Linked DNA regions of Homo sapiens: all the other regions are linked to region 1. Evidence: promoter capture Hi-C in 16 types of primary human blood cells and fetal thymus (Javierre and others, 2016). All regions are on one chromosome and are shown on one strand. Each heading gives the region's core, a stretch centred on a gene start or on the middle of the fragment in contact. The rest is flanking DNA. Distances are from core to core; before and after follow the strand shown. Region 1 holds the start of MSH2 (mutS homolog 2). Region 2 overlaps TTC7A (tetratricopeptide repeat domain 7A). Region 3 overlaps MSH6 (mutS homolog 6).

What was found. Contacts are between HindIII fragments. The CHiCAGO score rates a contact against its expected background, and 5 or more counts as called.
Region 2: a fragment that was not itself captured here is called in contact with the fragment with the promoter of MSH2 in region 1 in 1 of 17 cell types (erythroblasts); the score reaches 5.5 in erythroblasts.
Region 3: a contact is called between a fragment that was not itself captured here and the fragment with the promoter of MSH2 in region 1, in 2 of 17 cell types (fetal thymus and naive B cells). The highest score is 6.4, in fetal thymus.

The regions. Positions count from the first base shown.
Region 1 is chr2:47,401,107-47,405,868 of GRCh38, forward strand. It overlaps MSH2 (mutS homolog 2), which reads left to right and starts at 2,050. Exons shown (of 16, transcript NM_000251.3): 1 at 2,050-2,296. The coding sequence starts at 2,086. RefSeq lists enhancers at 1,737-1,786, 1,791-2,501, 2,502-3,210, 2,577-2,636. The HindIII fragment of the contact is 10,707 bases long and covers 1-4,762 here.
Region 2 is chr2:46,950,733-46,955,494 of GRCh38, forward strand. All of the region lies in intron 2 of TTC7A (tetratricopeptide repeat domain 7A), which reads left to right. Among named protein-coding and RNA genes, the nearest start is that of TTC7A, 12 kb to the left of the region's middle. RefSeq lists a silencer at 4,398-4,692. The HindIII fragment of the contact is 1,309 bases long and covers 1,579-2,887 here.
Region 3 is chr2:47,785,062-47,789,823 of GRCh38, forward strand. All of the region lies in intron 1 of MSH6 (mutS homolog 6), which reads left to right. Among named protein-coding and RNA genes, the nearest start is that of MSH6, 4.3 kb to the left of the region's middle. The HindIII fragment of the contact is 1,423 bases long and covers 1,081-2,503 here.

The sequences.
Region 1 (4,762 bases), core at 800-3,299:
CCCATTATGTGTGGGCTGGGCACAGGAATATGTTTAAATCCCCCCCCACCTCCCCAGGGTGATTCTGCTGCTGAATTAGGTTTTGGAACCACTTCCATGGGGAAAGGGTAAACTAAACTGGAGAATGCAAAAACCTTTTTTTTTTTTTTTTTTTTTTTTGAGACAGAGTCTCACCCTGTTGCCCAGGCTGGAGTGCAATGGCGCGACCTCGGCTCACTGCAACCTCCACCTCCCAGGTTCAAGGGATTCTCCTGCCTCAGCCTCCCAAGTAGCTGGGATTACAGGTGCCCACCACTACACCCGGCTAATTTTGTGTGTGTTTTTAGTAGAGACGGAGGTTCACCATGTTAGTCAGGCTGGTCTCGAACTCCTGACCTCAGGTGATCTGCCCGCCTCGGCCTCCCAAAGTGCTGGGATTACAGGCGTGAGCCACCGCGCCCGGCCAGCAAAAACCTTTTCTAAGAGTTAATTTTGCAGGATGGATCCTGAGCTCCTTCAGGTGTTTGATAACATTTTATTTATTTTTTGAGACAGAGTCTCGCTCTGTCACCGAGGCTGGAGTGTAGTGGCGCGATCTTCGCTCACTGCCCCCTCCACCTCCCAGGTTCAAGAGATTCTCCTGCCTCAGCCTCTCGAGTAGCTGTGATTACAGGCGCCCACCACTATGCCCGGTAATTTTTGTATTTTTAGTAGAGACGGGGTTTCGCCATGTTGGCCAGGCTGGTCTCAAACTCCGGACCTCAGGTGATCCACCCGCGTTGGCCTCCCAATACGCTGGGATTACAGGCGTGAGCCACTGCGCCTGGCTGTTTGCTAACATTTTAAAATTTCAACCTTCCTCTTCCTTAACTGGTCTTCCCCTACCCCCCCTCAAGACGGGGTCTCTCGCTCTGTCGCCCCAGCTGCGGTGCAGTGGCGTGAACATAGCTGACGGCAGAAGACCTCCTGGGCTCAAACGATCCTCCTGGCTCGTGCTCCCAAAGTACTGGGATTATGGCGTGTGACACCACGCCTGGCGTCAAACGTTTGTCTTTTTATTTATTTTATTTTGTATTTTTTGAGACAGGGTTTTCAATCTGTCGCCCACGCTGGAGTGCAGTGGCACAATTTACGGCTCACCGCAGCCTCGACCTCCCGGGCTCAGGTGATCCTTTCGCCTCAGCCCTGCTAATATCTGGGATCACAGACGTGGGTTTTACCATGTTGCCCAGGATGGTGTCAATCTCCTGGGCTCAAGTGATCCGCCCACCTCGGCCTCCCAAATTGCTGGGATTACAGGCGTGAGCTACCGCGCCCTGCCACAAACGCATATCTTCTAACGTACCATTTCATTTACTTGCTATATTCATTATCTGAATTTTCTCATATTAGAATGTAAGCAGAATAAAGGCAGTGATTTTTCTTTTTACTGGCGATCCTCAGAGCCAAGAAGAGTCTGGGACATAGCAGGCCATATAAATGTTTTCGAATGAGTGAATCATCAACGAGTGGATGAAACGATAATGTGGCTAACAGGCAGCAGTAAGGAGGCTGTGTAGAATAAACCCGTAATCCCGATGTTGGCAGTTTGCTTAGAAAGAAAAAGGGAGGCAGTCGGAGAGGGGCACACGTTTTAACAAAATACTGGGAGGAGGAGGAAGGCTAGTTTTTTTTTTGTTTTCAAGTTTCCTTCTGATGTTACTCCCATGCTTCCGGGCACATTACGAGCTCAGTGCCTGCCGGAAATCTCCCACCTGGTGGCAACCTACCCTTGCATACACCCCACCCAGGGGCTTCAAGCCTTGCAGCTGAGTAAACACAGAAAGGAGCTCTACTAAGGATGCGCGTCTGCGGGTTTCCGCGCGACCTAGGCGCAGGCATGCGCAGTAGCTAAAGTCACCAGCGTGCGCGGGAAGCTGGGCCGCGTCTGCTTATGATTGGTTGCCGCGGCAGACTCCCACCCACCGAAACGCAGCCCTGGAAGCTGATTGGGTGTGGTCGCCGTGGCCGGACGCCGCTCGGGGGACGTGGGAGGGGAGGCGGGAAACAGCTTAGTGGGTGTGGGGTCGCGCATTTTCTTCAACCAGGAGGTGAGGAGGTTTCGACATGGCGGTGCAGCCGAAGGAGACGCTGCAGTTGGAGAGCGCGGCCGAGGTCGGCTTCGTGCGCTTCTTTCAGGGCATGCCGGAGAAGCCGACCACCACAGTGCGCCTTTTCGACCGGGGCGACTTCTATACGGCGCACGGCGAGGACGCGCTGCTGGCCGCCCGGGAGGTGTTCAAGACCCAGGGGGTGATCAAGTACATGGGGCCGGCAGGTGAGGGCCGGGACGGCGCGTGCTGGGGAGGGACCCGGGGCCTTGTGGCGCGGCTCCTTTCCCGCCTCAGAGAGTGGGCGGTGAGCAGCCTCTCCAGTGCGGAGGCACGGGGGCGGAACGTTGGTGCTTGTGCGGATTCCGCCGTCCCCAGGTTCTGCTTGGCTCCGGAGGGACGCCCCCCTCAGCCCTGAAACCCGTGCCTCTCCAGCCGCCCCGGATCTGAACTTGTGATCACGGAGTGTTTACGTCGTGCCAGGCATTTTAATGCATTGTTCTAGTTCATTTTCCAGCAGTCGCATTCCTCGCCTTGGCCCTACATGTAGCGCTCATTACAAACACGGCCAGAATCTCTTATTAACAAACAGCAGCCAGGAGTGAGATTTAAAATAGACTGGGGGTTTAGGAGACCCTTTTATGACACGTAATTCTGCTCCCACGACGCTCCCATTTATACCGCCGGTCCAGCTAAGGGTCTGGTAATGGAGCGCCGTTGAAGAGCAGTATGATGAAGTGGTCAGGACCAACGGACTCTGGAGCTGGGCTGCTTGGGATCAAGTCGCTGCCCCTCTGCTTATTAACGTGTGACCTTGGGCCAGTCATGGACGCTATCTGCTTCAGCTCAGCATTCAGTGCTCTCCGTCACCCGACCCCATCTATCCAGGATTATCTCTCCCTGGAAAGCTACAAACGTCTCACCCTATGTGGGCCAAATGTTCTGGATAGGCCTAGTTAACCTCTTCTCTCCCTGTTTTCTTTGCGCTTTCTTGCAGCTATGTAGTTATGCTAATGAAAAGAGCATCCTAGGGGGAGCAGAGTTGTGGATTCTAGTCCTGACTAGAGGACTAGTGCAAATGCGATACTCCTGATGAAAAATGTTTCATTCGTTAGATATAAATGTGTTAGGCAGGGTTATGGACACTAGATGAAAAAAGAAATACCTCTACTTTCATAGAGATCACTATTGGACAGCAAGGCAGAAATAATTACAATTCAAGTTGGAGGCTTATGGAGGTGAGCTTGTAAGAGGTTACAAGAGGCGCCAAGGCAGGATCGCCAAAGACGGAAGACTTTGGAAGAGTCTCATACAACGGAAGAGGCGTTATATGAGACACCAAAGTCCACGTTGAGTCTTGGTGGACTAGAAGTTTGCTAGGGAGAGGGCTTGAAACGAGGTAGATTGGCGTTGCTGGTGTAGAAAAGGAAGGAGACTGGCCCAGGTGGGTGGGGTTAGATGACCAAAGGCTTTTAGTGTGGTGTTGAGCTGTTGAAATTTTATGCTGTAGCCAATGAAAAGTCTGAAATGTTTTTTTTTTTTTTTTTTCTGAGACGGAGTCTTACTGTGTCGCCCAGGTTGGAGTTCAGTGGTGTAATCCTGGCTCACTGCAACCTCCACCTCCTGGGTTCAAGCGATTCTCCTGCCTCAGCCACCGGAGTAGCTGGGATTACAGGCACGTGCCACCACGCCTAGCTAATTTTTGTATTTTTAGTAGAGATGGGGTTTCACCATGTTGGCCAGGCTGGTCTCAAACTCCTGACCTCAAGTGATCCACCCACCTTGGCCTCCCGATGTGCTGGGATTACAGGTATTAGCCACTGCACCTGACCTACATAGATTTTACATAAGACTTTAAAACAGGGCGGGCGCAGTGACTCACGCTTGTAATCCCAGCACTTTGGGAGGCTGAGGTGGGCGGATCACAAGGTCAGGAGATCAAGACCATCCTGGCTAACATGGTGAAACCCTGTCTACACTAAAAATACAAAAATCCCAGCACTTTGGGAGGCTGAGGTGGGCGGATCACGAGGTCAGGAGATCCAGACCATCCTGGTTAACACTGTGAAACCCTGTCTCTACTAAAAATACAAAAAATTAGCTGGGTGCGGTGGCAGGTGTCTGTAGTCCCAGCTACTTGGGAGGCTGAGGCAGGAGAATGGTGTGAACCCGGAAGGCAGAGCTTGCAGTGAGCCGAGATTGTGCCACTGCACTCCAGCCTGGGCAACAGAGCGAGACTCCATCTCAAAAAAAAAAAAAAAAAAAAAAAAGACTTTAAAAAAAATTATAAGAAAGGACAGACCAAGTGCAGTGGTTCGTTCCAGCACTTAGGGATGCCAAGGTGGGAGGATTGCTTGATGCTAGGAGTTGAAGACTAGCCTGTGTAACATAGCGAGACCCATCTCTACAAAAAAATTAAAAAGTTACCTTTAGAACTTACGATTTTTATGTGTAGACTCCATATAAGCAGAGGGTCTATGCTTATTCACTATTTATTACCTTCCATAGTCCCTGCACATATAATAGGTGCTTCATAAACAATTTAATGAATGAATAAATTACTGAGAAAACACTGGAAGTTTTTGGGTTAGCATTGTGTTAGGTGCTTGATATGGTCTGGCTGTGTTCCCACCCTTATCTCATCTTGAATTCCCATGTTTTGTGGGAGGTACCTGGTGGGACATAATTGAATC
Region 2 (4,762 bases), core at 983-3,482, 450 kb before region 1:
AGCATACACAAGGTTTCAAAGACTTAGTACAAAACAAAGAATAGAAAAGAGCAGTAACTTTTTATGTTGATTACATGTTCAGATGGTATATTTTGGATATATTGGGTTAAATAAAACATGTTATTAAAATTAATTTCACCTTTTACCTTTTTCAGTGTGACTAAAAAAAATCTTAGTAGAAATTTTTAAATTACACATGTGGTTCACATTTGTGGCTTACATCATATTTTTTTGGACAGTGCTTGGTTGACTTAATATGTGCCTGGCCCTTTGGGCTCCTTGGGTCAGGGGGCTCTCAGGAAAATAAAACCTCAGTGAACCTGTGACCTAGTTAGAAACAGGCAAACATGCAGAGTTGGCTAGGGACAGAAGAGCTCCATAACAGGGCAAGCCCATTTAAGTCCACGTGTATTTATCAAGCACCTACTGAGTACAAGACACTGAGGGAGGTAGAGGACCCACCTCTCCCTCCCAGAAGGAGTATGGTCACAACTTTCTCTGGACTTTGCTGCTCAAAATGTGGTCCACCCACCAGCAGTGTAGGCATCATTGGGGAGCTGGTTAGAAATGCAATTAAGAGAAAAAAAAAAAGAAATGCAATTAAGAATTAGAATCTGTGTTTTAACAAGCTCTCCTGGGTGATTCATATGTGCATCCAAGTTTGAGGCTGTGGCTGTGTTAGATTACAATGTATCCTGAACTATAATAGTGGCATGGGTATGTCATTAGAAACTCAAAAGAGGAGGGGGAGGGGGTAAAAAAAAACTCAAAGAGGAAGTGATCCCTCCCTCCCTCCCTTCCTTCCTTGCTTCCTTCCCCTCTGTCTCTCTCTTTCTTTCTGTCTTTCTGTCTGTCTTTATTTTCTTCAGGGTCTCGCTGTGTTACTCAGGCTGGTCTCCAACTCCTGGGCTCAAGCGATCCTCCTACTTCAGCCTCCCGAAGCGTTGGGATTACAGGAGTGAGGCACTGCGCCCAGCTGATTTTTAAAGAGCTATTCCAAAGTAATATATTCACTTCCTTAAACCTTTTATTCCAACGTACTGTGTGCAAGGCATTGTGTTGTGCACTCTGAAGGCAATCAAGACGAATCCAGCATGGACCCTGCCCTCAAGGAGGTTGCAGGTCTCTTGGGAAGATAAGTCCTATCAGCAAGTAAATAGCCTTCCTCCAAGGTAGACCGTGATAGGAGTGCTATCCACGAGGAAGCAAGTCTGAGGGGGATGCTCTTTGGGGATAAGCAGAGAGCAGACTCTGAGTAATGGCAGTACTAGAATTGGATCCTTCTGGGGCTGGATCTAGACAAGGTTGTAAAGGTACTTTGGGGCTAGTAAGGGCAGACTGGAACACCAGGCCAGGATGTGCAGGGCTTATTTTGTAAGGGAGGGAAAGGCCAGGGGAGAGGGGAGTGTGTACTAGAAGTTTAAGGTTACTGCTTTTAGGCTCCTTGACAGGTATTGTAGCACTGGGAGGTTTGTATTGGGTTAAAATAGCTGCCTGACCCTGAGCATGCTTGACCCCACAGACCTTCCAGTTTCTCATCTGCTGGTCAAAAGGGTTGGACCAGATTGGTGGGGTTCAAGCTTTTCCCACCAAGACCGCTTTTCGTTTTAAAAATATTAAATTAATAATTAAATGTTAAATTAAATATTTAAAAATTGTTTTTAAAATAAACATGATTCAGCCTTATTGTAAAAATTCCAGTCAACAAATAAGTAATTTGAGTGATAAATAAAAGTCCCAGCTGGCCTATGGCTCACGCCTGTAGTCTTAGCACTTTGGGAGGCTAAGGTGGGAGGATTGCTTGAGCCAGAAGTTTGAGATCAGACTGGGCAACATGGTGAGACCCCATCTCTACAGAAAATTTTTTTAATTAGCTAGGCGTGGTGGCTTGCACCTGTGGTCCCAGCTACCCAAGAAGCTGCGGCTGGAGGGTCACTTGAGCCTAGGAGGTTGGGGCTGCAGTGAGTTGTGTTCATGCCACTGCACTCCAGCCTGGGTGACAGAGCAAGATCCTGTCTCACACACACAAAAAAAGTTCTTGTTTTCCAACCTCACCCTCATGCCCACACCCATCCTCAGAGTTGAGCACTGGTCAGTATTTGATGTGCATCTCCTATGCCTTTCTTTGTGCATTTACAAACATATATACACACAGATATTTCTTTTCATAGAGTTGTAAGATATATATTTTTCACCAAGAAGTTTTATTTAGAGCTTTCTCCATGCCAGTATTGTCTCATTCTTTGTATTGGCTGAATAGTAACCACATGTATTGTGACAACGGTTTTATTAAATACAAATTGTACCATATTTTGTTAAACAAAGACATATATAGGCACCAATAATGTGCAGAAATTTACTGTTATCCAGGCCAGAGCCAAAAACTTAATGATGATCTGTAAAATAATATATTAAATGTCGTTTGTGGGATTCTTTTTTGAGACAGGGTCTCACTCTGTCACCCAGGCTGGAGTGCAGTGGCGTGAACATGGCTCACTGCAGACTGGACCTCCTGGGCTCAAGTGATCATCCTGCTTCAGCCTCCTGAGTAGCTGGGACTATAGGCATGCACCACCACACCCAGCTAATTTTTAAATTTTTTTGTAGAGACAAAGTCTTGTCATATTGCTCAGGCTGGTCTTAAACTCCTGGGATCAAGCAGTCCTGTCACCTGTGCCTCCCAAAGTGCTAGGATTACAGGCGTGAGCCACCATGCCCGGCCATCATTTGTAGTATTTTCTATCTCACCCGCAAAGATCAGGTCACAGTTGGCGTGACCTTTCTTGGCAGCTGATGCAGTCTCAGGTGGATTCCTGTGCATCCAAGTAGCTCTGCTGGATGAGAAGGAGAGCTGGGAGAGGTGGGTCCTGAGGCCCCTCCTTGGGAAAGCTTGAAACCCTTTCCTCTTGGTTATCTCTCTAAGACCCCGTCCAGCTCAGTTGTGTGGAGATCAGTGAAAACAAGCCACTTGTCCTAAACTCTGTTCTGCTACTAGGTTGAGGCTTTGCACCATCGCATGCAGGCCTCCAAGGAACCTTCTGCAACGGTATTTACTATTAGCCCCATTTCTTTTTCTTTCTTTCTTTCTTTTTTTTTTTTTTCAATTTTTTGTAGAGACACAGTTCTTACTGTGTTTCTCAGGCTGGTCTCAGATTCTGGGTTTCAAGCGATCCTCTTGCCTTGGTCTCCCAAAGTGCTGGGATTACAGGTGTGAGCCACTGTGCCCTGCCAAGCTCCATCTCTTGAGACCCAAGAAAGGTGATCACAACCCAGGCCTTTAGTGTCTACAGCCCATGCTCTAATGCTGTCTCTCATTTCTTGGTACTGCCTCCCAGAGTACTGGGGTGGAAATAAAATAATGACTGGGAAAGTTGGATTCATGTGAAAGATGGTGATCACACCCCCACTTTTATAGTTCCCACGTTAGTCTGTGAAGTATTTCCTCATCCGTTCTTTCCTCATACCTGGATATCTCCATGAAGTCCTTTTTCCCCTTTTATTGACAGGGACAGTGAGGCACAAAAGGAGTAGGTGATGCGCTGATCCACACAGTAGAGGGGATTGTTCCTCTGGTAAAGCGACCTCCCCCGTGGCACCCTCCCACTGGGCAAGGGGTTCCGTTCCCTGACTGTTGTACTGATAGACCAAGAATATTTCACATTCAAATGCATGGGCCCCACAGAGTGCAGTGGACTCTTAATGTTGCCAAGTAAGGACATTAAGAAGCAAAAAATAGCAGCAAAATGATACCATCTTCTGCTCTTACTGTGCTATAACAGAAAAACAGTTTAGCATTGAAAGGGCAAGGTAGATATCCTTTCAGAACTAAGAGCCTTTTTTTTTTTTTTTTTTTTGAGACAACGGAGTCTCGCTCTGTCACCCAGGCTGGAGTACAGTGGCACGATCTTGGCTCACTGCAACCTCCGCCTCCCGGGTTCAAGCGATTCTTCTGCCTCAGCCTCCCAAGTAGCTAGGATTACAGGCGCCCACCACCACGCCCGGATAATTTTTGTATTTTTAGTAGAGACGGGTTTTACCATGTTGTCCAGGCTGGTCTCAAATTCCTGATCTTAGGTGATCTGCCTGCCTCGACCTCCCAAAGTGCTGGGATTACAGGCGTGAGCCACCGTACCCGGCCGAGCATTTTTTTAAATAGTGTAAATGTGGCTTTATAAAACATGCCCTGCATTGTCTAATTTTTCCCCAGCTTGGTGGAAGCTCTGTTGTAAACTGCCACTGGTCCTCCAGGAACCGCCACTAGCCACACCCCATCAGCATGCCTGAAATGTCCTTCTCTGCCTCACTGCCCTTGTCTCCATGTGCAGGATAATGATAAATACGCATACCCTGTATTTATCTTGCTCTTTTCCAAAGAAAAGTTCAAAGCTCTTTTCTGGACTTTGCCCTATTAATGCCTTCAGCATCGCTGTGATAGGCAGTGAGGAGTAGGTGTTATTATCTCTCCCTCACCCACGAGGAAGACGCAGCCCGAGCAGGGAGGAAATGAGCCCGTGGCTTGAGACCAGTGCAGGGAACGCAGAGTCACTGCCCAGCTTGGAAGGACTGTGGGCCACATACCTCTGGGATGTGTCATCTGTGGCCCTGGCCCAGGGAGTGGATGGCCTATCTGGGAAGACTAGCAAATCCCCTCAAAAGATTCAGCTTTGGAGAGTTAATTAATAGAGAGAGCAGGTCAGGCGTGCAGAGGCTGAATGGGCCCATTGGTAGAGGCATTGGAGGAGTTCAGCTGAAGGGAGCTCCC
Region 3 (4,762 bases), core at 542-3,041, 380 kb after region 1:
TCGGCCCGCATTGGCCTACCAAAGTGCTGGGATTACAGGCATGAACCACCGAGCCCGGCCGTTTGTCAGATACTAAACACAAAGTTTAATGGTCGCTATTTGAACAAACGAAGAAATAAAGGCTCAGAAAAAATAACTCATTCAAGATAAGAGCCAGTTCGTGTTTTTTGTTTGGTTTTGTTTTGAAATGGAGTCTCGCTCTGTCGCCCAGGCTGGAGTGCTGTGGCGCTTTCTCGGCTCACTGCAACCTCTGCCCGCCGGGTTCAAGTGATTCTCCTGCCTCAGCTTCCCGAGTAGCTGGGATTACGGGTGTGCCCACCGCGGTCCGGCTGATTTTTCACCATGGAGTTTCACCATGTTGGCCAGGCTGGTCTTGAAACTGCTGACCTCAAGTGGTCCACCCACTTCAGCCTCCCAAAGTGCTGGGATTACAGGTGTGAGCCACCGTGCCCGGCCGCTAGTTAGTGGTTTTGAGTAATGGATTTCAAATCCATTTAAATCCAGTTTAAAGTGTCCTAAAGGAATTCTGAGATTTTTCTAAGTGTAATTATAGTGTTACCCTTGTTTAAGCGACCCTTTCCCGCAGTTTAAATATATATAGTTGTGCATTAGTAGAATATGCTTGTGGGGAACAGAGCCAGCATCCGCAATAACAAACTCCTGGTTAGAAAAGCATGACGTATTGTTTACTTGAGCATGAATTGATTGTTGAATCCAAACCAAACGGGTGTATTTATTGTAAGGATGTACTTTACATTCATATTGAATAGCGTATGTTATTTGTTTCTTGAGGTTGAGTTTAAGAGACTTGTAAAAATAAAACGTATACATTTCACCTCCCGTTATGGAGAGGATTCCAGGGTATTCAAGAAAGATGGGCATTTGATACTAGGTTTCTAAAGAAACTGCAGTGTCTAGATCACTCTGCCGAGCACAGCATTAGGCATTATGGATCCTGGATACAACCATGAACAGGACAAAGCAAAGAGGCAATTGTAGACTCCAAGTGGAAAGGGGACGGAGAGGATGCGGGTCAGGCTAGGCTCTCAGCTCTGTAAACCGAAACCAGAAGGACAAATAAGCTTAGACAGATTATAGTGAGAGTGGGAAGCTGGTTCAGGAAGAGGAAGGTCTGCAAATTGTGGGTAGGATGAAAGGAGGAGGAGGGAGCATTGGAGAAGTTAAGCAGAGATCCAATCATGAACAGTCTGATGAGCTACAGAGACATTCGGACTTACTCCATGAATCATTTAAGCCTTAAAACATGTTGAGCGTATTTTTTTTTTTTTTGAGACGGAATTTCACTCTTGTTGCCCAAGCTGGAGTGCAGTGGTGTGGTCTCAGCTCACTGCAACCTCCGCCTCCTGGGTTCCAGCGATTCTCCTGCCTCATCCTCTCAAGTACCTGGTATTACAGGTGCCTGCCACCACGCCCAGCTAATTTTTGTGTTTATAGTAGAGACGGGTTTCACCATGTTGGTCAGGCCAGTCGTGAACTCCTGACCTCAGGTGATCCACCCACCTCAGCCTCCCAAAGTGTTGGGATTACAGGCGTGAACCACCGCACCTGGCCGTGAGCCACCGTGTCTGTCCGAGCATCTTTTAATGTTTGTCATTTAGATTTCTTCTTGTGCTGAAGTGTTTGTCTTTTGCTGTTTCTTTTTTTTTTCCTAGTTCTTTGTCATTTGTGTGTGATATAAATGTCTTCTTTCACAATGAGTTCTTTCATTTAGTTTATGGCTTTGTTGTTGTTGTTGAATAATAGAGGTCTCACTTTGTTGCCCAGGCTGGTGTTGAACTCTTGCTCTCAAGCGATCCTCCCACTTCAGCCTCCCAACCTGTTGGGATTACAAGTGTGAGCCACCACACCCAGCCTTATGGCATCTTTCGATGAACAAATTATTGATTATAATGTGGAATTTGTCCTTTTATTTTCTCTGTGGTTAGTGTTTCTATAGGTTTTATTTAAGAAATCCACAGGGAGGCTGGGTGCAGTGGCTCATGCCTGTAAACCCAACACTTTGGGAGGCCAAGGCAGGCCAACATGGCTAGACCCTGTCTCTCCAAAAAATAAGAAAATTAGCCAGGCATGGTGGCGTGTGCCTGTAGTCCCAGCTTCTTGGGAGACTGAGATGGGAGGATCGCTTGAGTCCAGGAGGTTGAGGCTGCAGTAAGCCAAGAGATCATGCCATGCACTCCAGCCTGGGTGGCAGAGTCAGACCCTGTCTGCCAAAAAATAAAATAAAAGTTGGTGAAAATGTTGATTATATATTTTAGGAACAACTAGTAATTGACATCAAAATTATGGGCTAAAGAGAAAGCAAAAATAATGTGATTTTAAACCAGAATTCAAAAGATCTGTTTAGCGTATGTTTAGACAAAGCCATTACTTATTATATCAAAGTTTTAACATTTATTTTGTGAGCTGTCAGCTTTTCCTCTTAACATTTTTCCCCACCGTCTTAAAAAACCCCAAGAATACCGGACATTTAAGACTCACTTAAAGCTTTAAAAGCACTTGCAAAATCCTAAAATCATAATTTAAGGTGTTTTTGGAGGGCAGGAGCAATGGTGGCAGGCAGTGTTTTGCTTTGTTGCCCAGGCTGAAGTACAGTGGCAGATCTCGGTTCACTGCACCCTCGACCTATTCGGCTCAAGTGATCCTCCCACCTCAGCTTTCTGAGTAGCTGGGACCCCAAGTGCACACCACCCCATGCCTGGCTAATTTTTAAATTTTTTTGTAGAAACAAGGTCTCACTGTGTAGCCCAGATGGTCTCGAATTCCTGGGCTCTTAAGAGATCCTCCCAAAGTGCTGGGATCATAGGTGTGAGCCACCACACCTGGCCTATTTTGGCATTCTTGAAAACCGCAGGATTACCACGGATAAAATTTTAAAATTACCTTTAAAGAATTCAGGTTTACACACAAAAAAAATTTGGTTTGTTAGCAGTGAGTGAAGAAAAATTTTGAGAAATGTTTAAAATTTTTAGTTTTGTTACACAATACATTTTACTACCTGTTTAATTATCTTTTTTGACTCAGAAACCAGTTTCCTGGGTCCAGGATGTTTAGTGGTACTCTTTTTCTTCAAGCTTTTTAGCATTGGAGGAACTGCATATTAGTAAAATTTTTAGTCTTAGCATTTTATAGCTTACTGCTATTTCTTTTCTTTCATTCTTTCTTTCTTTTTTTTTTTTTTTTTTTTTTTTTTGAGATGGAGTCTCGCCCTGTCACCCAGGCTGGAGTGCAGTGGCACGATCTCGGCTTACTGCAACCTCTGCCTTCCAGGTTCAAATGATTCTCCTGCTTCAGCCTCCCGAGTAGCTGGGATTACAGATGCCCGCCACCATGCCCAGCTAATTTTTATTTTTTTAGTAGAGATGGGGTTTCACCATGTTGGCCAGGCCAGTCTCGAACTCCTGACCTCGTGATCAACCCGCCTTGGCCTTTCAAAGTGCTGGGATTACAGGCGTGAGCCACCGTGCCCAGCCTTTTTCTTTTTCTTTTTCTTTTTTTTTTTTTTTTTGAGACGGAGTCTTGCTCTGTTACCCAGGCTGGAGTGTAGTGGCATGATCTGGGCTCACTGCAACCTCCACCTCCCGGGTTCAAGGGAGTCTCCTGCTTCAGCCTCCCGAGTAGCTGGGATTACAGGCGCCTGCCACCATGCCCAGCTAATTTTTGTATTTTTTTAGTAGAGATGGGGTTTCGCCATGTTGGCCAGGCTGGTCTTGAACTCCTGACCTCAGGTGATCTGCCTGCCTCGTCCTCCCAAAATGCTGGGATTATAGGAGTGAGCCACTGCGCCCGGCCCAGCATACTGCTATTTCTTTCTTTCTTTCTTCTTCCTTTTTTTTTTTTTTGTTTTTTTTTTTTTTTTTTTTTTTTTGTGAGACGGAGTCTGTCGTCCAGGCTGGAATGCAGTGGCGTTTTCTTGGCTCACTGCAACCTCTGCTGCCCGGGTTCAAGTGATTCTCCTGCTTCAGGCTCCCAAGTAGCTGGGATTATAGGCCTCTGCCACTGCACTTGGCTAATTTTTGTATTTTTGGTAGAGACGGGGTTTCACCATCTTGGCCAGGCTGGTCTTGAACTCCTGACCTCGTGATCCACCTGCCTTGGCCTCCCAAAGTGCTGGGATTACAGACCTGAGCCACCGCACCCGGCCCATACTGCTATTTCTTAACAGCAGAGAAATTATGTGTCAGATTCTGTAAGTGTAATGGTATATAAAGGATAAAATGATGTTGAAAAACAAAATTTTTTGTTTAAATGCTTATGTTTCTAATATTTTATTTCAGAAAGGAATTTATTTCAAAACTGATAATGGTTGGATCCAGCTTTTCACACAAACTTTTTTTTCCTAGTGAGGATGCACATTTATCCTGTAAACAAATGGAAGACATTATTTTTTTAATTGCTTGCTTAGAAATGAAATAATTCTTTTCTAATGATCTTTTAAAGCATGAGACCTCATACATCATTTAAAACAATTTATACTGTATTTTACACATGACAAAGTTCTAAGGTAACAGCCCTTTTCTAAGACTAAAGTTACAGTCCTCCCTTTGTATCTGAGGGGGATTGGTTGCAGGACCCCCCTGTGAATACCCAAATCCTTGGATGTCCAAGTCCCTTATGAGATGTAGTATTTGCATATAACCTATACACATCTTCCCCTGTACTTTATCTCTAGATTACGTACAATACCTAATAGAATGTAAATGCTTTGAAATTAGTTGTTCAGCTGTATTTTAAATTTTGTATT